Linked DNA regions of Homo sapiens: region 2 is linked to region 1. Evidence: promoter capture Hi-C in human tissues and cell types (Jung and others, 2019). All regions are on one chromosome and are shown on one strand. The core of a region is centred on a gene start or on the middle of the fragment in contact, and the rest is flanking DNA. Distances in the headings are between cores, read along the strand shown.

Evidence for each region. Contacts are between HindIII fragments. The study calls those that stand out against the background at their distance.
Region 2: a fragment that was not itself captured here is called in contact with the fragment with the promoter of DSG4 in region 1 in 3 of the 25 tissues and cell types used here (mesenchymal stem cells, mesendoderm cells and thymus).

What each region holds. Positions count from the first base shown.
Region 1 is chr18:31,375,328-31,378,107 of GRCh38, forward strand. It overlaps DSG4 (desmoglein 4), which reads left to right and starts at 1,450. Exons shown (of 16, transcript NM_177986.5): 1 at 1,450-1,632. The coding sequence starts at 1,585. All of the region lies in intron 1 of DSG1-AS1 (DSG1 antisense RNA 1), which reads right to left. The HindIII fragment of the contact is 6,705 bases long and covers 1-2,780 here.
Region 2 is chr18:31,203,452-31,206,231 of GRCh38, forward strand. No RefSeq gene overlaps it. Among named protein-coding and RNA genes, the nearest start is that of DSC1, 42 kb to the left of the region's middle. RefSeq lists an enhancer at 2,676-2,780. The HindIII fragment of the contact is 5,385 bases long and covers 1-2,780 here.

The DNA.
Region 1 (2,780 bases), core at 200-2,699:
ATTGCTTCCTGTTTCTTTTCTTTAAAACTCATCCTATAAATAGCATTCAAGTAGATAGAAAATCTTATATTTAGAAGAAAATATAAGAAAAATCTTATATGTAGAAGAAATCATCTATAGTGTAAACAAAAGATAGAGACCTTTGTGAAATATCTCCTTCAAACACAACAATAGAGAAGAATGTTGTTTTTCCCTTGTAAAAAGCAATGTCACTTAAAGACCTGGAGTTGTTTCATTAATTCTCTTAGGCAAATTAAATTATCTAATTCAACATGACATGAAATAATGCAAAAGTAAATTACTTTATCTGGCTTCCAAAAATACTAAAACTACTTTTCTCAAGAAACTAAGCAATACTTAGAATACATTCTATTACCAGGGTCAACCTTGTTTCTGAATTACAGTGATGGGATAGTGAAGACAGGAGGCAGTCTCCCTTTGAAATTCTCCAACCAACATGTATTATCTATCAATCAGAGAACAGTTAACTGCATTTTCTTTTAAGTTTATTGATGTTGCTGCCAGCCTGCAATGTTTGCATCAGGACACTCTATACCCTGTTTCAAACCCATACTAACAAAGGAAAAGGGAGACACGAAAAAGGGAAATAATATTCAAAAATATCCAGATCCCACTCTGGGCTTTTTTTCATTAAATTCTCACGTTTCCAACTTCAGTTTCTCCTTAATAAATATTTGTGGTGGTGTAAAATGTGTTCCTCACCCACATTATGTACTTTTTATCAGTGGTAATACTATGAGAAGTGAGAATGTTGTATTGTAGTTACTTTAAAATGATTTTGTAAATATCATATTGTAGAGGTTTGACTGAATAATCAAGAAAGAAAATGCCAAAGTATGGAAACAAACATACTGGTACTAGTTAAATCAGAGTTCCTTCATCTTAACTTTGTTATTTCAGAAAATCTTTAAAATTGAGAGTGCGGTTCAACCACAAGACATTTTAAAGAGAGAAGCAGGACTCAACTGAATTGAAATGAGCGTCATTATTCTATCTTTCTTCCTATACCATACTTGAGTCCTGATGACTTTCAACAATGGCCTCTGCTAAAAGTATCATTCCTTGAAGTGGGTTCTGCAGTGGACATGTGTGTGTATGTGTTGTCAGTATATGTAATTTTGCTTTTACAATGTTGGCAGTAAGAAGAAGCCTTCTAATTTTATTCAGCATGATGATAGGCCCTAGCATTTTAATTATTTTTTATGTTGTGAGTAATTTATTATTCACTGGCTATCTTCCCTGTAAATCTTGTCCTCGCTCTGTAAGGTTTTTCTTTGGTGTCCAACAAAGGGTTTCATTGCAATAAGAATCAAGGTGTGTCTAAATTCTTACCCAGAGCCCAAACAATGCCAGTCTTCCAGACCAGCCTGGGAGTTTGGGGTGGGGAAACAGTCATTATAGAATATCTTCATCTCTCTGCCCAGAGATCACCACAGTTATCACCCATGCCCTCCTAAAAGGGTGTCTCAAAGCATATCTTTCTGTAGAGCAGAATTCGGAACTGAGAAGACGAGGGCTCAAATTGAATCTCACAGGATTTGCGTGCAAGAGAAACCCAAAGGAATGGATTGGCTCTTCTTCAGAAACATTTGCCTTTTGATCATTCTAATGGTAAGTAGAATTTAAAGAGGTGGGAAGGAAATGCAGCCTCAAGGTCTTGTCTCTGTCAACTGTCGGGCTTTCTACATGGGATTTATTCCATTTTTAATCTCCTTCCTGCAAAGAGAGTTCTAGAAGTCCAGCCTCTGTTAATTTCAAACAACTCTCTCCGCCTTGAGGAACAAAATGCCATAGAGAAGCGGGGTGAGAATCTGGCTGAATTAAATTTATATGCCCTCAGAGACATAATCTACTTCACTTTGAGTGTTAGGACTATTCTAAAATTTTAAATTGGAAATAAAATTCATATTCTATGATCATATAAATAAATCAGATAGATTGCTGTGAAAACTGCCAGTGCAAATGGGTTCTAAATTTGAAGGGAAGTTAATCAAACCCATTTCTTTTCAATAGTTATTTCCCTATGAGTTTCTTTCAAAGTGGAGGAATGATAGCCATGTTGAAATTACATTGCAACTAATGATGACATACTAAAGTCATGAGAACTTTTTCCAGTCAGATATTGCTAAAGAAAAATGAAGCCCAGCCATCAAGACAAAACTTTTCTGGAATTATGAATGCATTCCTACAGACCAGCAAAGAAATATTTAAATGACTTATTTCTTTACAGTAAACATGGCATCTTGGATATTATATTTCTTTCCTCTAACCTTTGGGTGCCCAAGGTGTGACATGATTTCCAGACAGGCAGCATGCATAGCAAATATCCTACCCTAGAAAGAGATAATTCCAACTCCAAAGAAGAACAAAGTTCCAGTTGGCCAATCAACAAACTATTGCCAATTCTGGGAGGGTAAGAGGACAGGATTATTAGGAACTGTACAAATTTTTCAAAGTAAATTAAGACAAATGCATTATAGTTGGCCACACTTCAATCTCCCAGGAGTATCCAGGTTAGCGCTACAACCTAAGCTTAGAAAGTGATTCCCATCCTATTCTTAGGCAAGTGGCAATTATACCAGACTCCTCTGAACATCAGTTGTAAGAGACAGAGAGTAGCTAGGGCTGGGAGAGATGGGAGCACGTCATTGTCCAAGAGGCACAGTGAGAGCTACTCTTCTGGAATTCACATTTCTAAACTTCAAGAGCAGTGCGGGAGCCGAACACTGCCAAAGGGCACACAACCCCAAGCTCAAAAG
Region 2 (2,780 bases), core at 138-2,637, 170 kb before region 1:
AAGAGGGTTTCCATTTTTACAGTTGAATGCAAAAGTTTGTATAAGAAACTTTCTTTATCTGTATAGCTGTGTAACTTCCCCTGTCTATATAGCTGCTTGTGTAACTGCCCTTTTCTGTGCAGCTGCGGGCGTGTCTTACGCAAGCACAGGGAGTAACACTTCTGTTGTCTGAGCAACTGTAGGCATGTTTTAGGCAAGCCCCCCGCCCCATGTAAGTTCCCAGGGAGCCCACCATGTACAGGTCCATGAAAGGAAAAGAAACTTTTTCCTAGGCGCCCGCTGATTACACAAAGAATAAAGGTGTTTCTATGTTGAGCTTTGCTCCCTTATCTGTGCAGCTGCAGCTTGATTTTCCAGGCTGTTTCTCTGTTTAAATCCTCTGCTGAGGACTTGCCTTAACTGTTTTTTTTTTTTCTTCCTTTCTCTTCTTTCATAAGGATGGCCTCAAACTCACTCGGTGGTCTTGAGCAAGCTGCTTACCTGCTCTGCATTTTGATGTTTTTTTCTATAACGCGGAAAATAAGCAGAGCACCCTGTGCGGGGTTGCTGAAAGGATAAAATGAGTATGCAAACACCTTGGACAGAATCACTCTATCGAACATGCTTATATTCCTCCTTTCTGATGCACTGAACACCTCTGGTTGCTGAGTTGTAAGACAGAAATGAGACTAAATACCTGCTTAACTTAACTAAATACCTGCTTAACTTAACTAAATACCTGCTTAACTTAACTAAATACCTGCTTAACTAAATACCTGCTTAACAAACCTCAGATATTGCAAGAACTTAATATTTCAGAAACATTCACTTAGAAATATGCTTTTATGAAGTAAAATTATTTACAAATAACTAAAATTATGAGTACCTTGGGGAAAAGTGTATTTCATAACCAGAAAAATCACTTCCCCTAAGTTTATCTGCCTCATATTTTACCAGTTTCATGATGTCGTAAAAATTATTTCTACATGTAAGCATACATAGATTAAATATGATATTCTATTTATTATATTTAGAAAATGATCGTATTCTCTTTCTCTTTGTTAAAGGCCAACTCATTCCCTTCACTTCCCACATTTTTTTTAAACAGAAGTTTCCAATCAAGCCATTTATTTCTAGAATGTTACCGGCATCACCTATAAACAGGAGCCATCTACTGTCATGTTTAATATTGCTTGTGTTTCATAAATTGCTTGTATTTCATTACTGCTTGTATTTCATAAATTGGTGCAAATACTCAGAACTTGCAAAAATAATTACCATTCAAAACCAAGAAATAAAGAAATAATGATATGCTTGTTTGTAGTATTATGACTAAATACAAATTTACTGGAAAGCTCTGCTCATAAACTCCATTTTCTTTCTGAGAAGCTGGCTTCACAAATTGGAAAATAATACTTTTATGCATATATTTTCTCATTCAACAAATATTTGTAGAAAGCCTGCCCTGCTGTGTGCCAGGCACTGTGTTAGGCCTGATACAATGATAAACAGGAGAGGGGATACAATAACGAATAGGAGAGTTGTGACCTCTGCCCTCAGGAACAGGGCACTTGTGGTGCAGACAGATAAGTAAACACACTGCCATGTGTGAGGAGCGCCAGGGCAGGGAAAGGGGAATGTGCCCTGGGAGCACACACCAGGAACCCCAGACCCACACTTCATGGTTGCAGGTAGGGAAGGTTCGCTGGTGGGAATGACCTTTAAGCTATTCTCTGAAGGATAAGGATTACCAAGTAAAGGGGGAGATTGGAGTGGCGGAAAGGATAGAGAGTGTTTCCAAAAGAGGAAACAGCATCCATGAAGGTATACAGGAGAGAGACAATGGTATATTTAAGAAACTGAGAGAAGGTTCATTTGGCATGAAGCCAGCATGGAGTTCAAGGTGGAGAGTACCAGGAGATAAGAATAAAGAACTAAAGAAGATCCAGCTTGTACAGAGTTATGCTAGTAGTACTTAAAAATTGGGCTTTTATCTAAGGACAATGAGTTCCAACAAGAATAGTAACATAACAGGTTAGGGAGGTTCATTTAGAAACCACTGACATCCACTAGAATATGCAGAGGCTTCCTAACACTGTCTGGCATTCTTCTCTGCTGGAACTCTTTGTTAGAATACATGGACATGGTCACTGCAGCCATGTAACAGGTTAAAATGAAAAGCACCTTTGTCGACGTCTCTTTTTCCAAACAAATATTGACTTCAGCAAAAGAGGTTTCATCACCTTCTGCCCACCTGTGTCTTCTCCCACTATTGCACATCTTTGGCCACATCTATTATCTACCTGTCTCCGGAGACACTCTCCTCTCTGCAAGGGAAACAGGGGAATTGTCCTGGAAGGTCAGTGCTATAGGGTTAAGAGGAACTATAAAACATGTCTCACCAGGTACAATGGCACGTGCCTGTAATCACAGCTGCTCAGAAGTCTGAGGCTGGAGAATGGCTCGAGCCCAGGAGTTCAAGACCAGCCTAGACAACATAGTGACACCCTATCTAAAAACAAACAAATAAATAAATATTAAAATACATTTAAAAAAATTACTCTAATATTCAAAAAAAGTTTCTCAAGCCAAAAGGAAAGCCTTCAATCCAGCCTCCATCACACCATTTCATAAAGGTAGAATACGTGGTGCTTTTTACACATTGCTTTATAAAACAAAGCAGTAGACTGAAGAAATGCTGAATGGTGGCCTTGATTACTACCTCATTGTGCCTTTGCACAAGTGGAAAGGCTGGGCTTGGAAGTCAAAAGACTTTAATGTTAGTTCTGCTAGCTATAAAC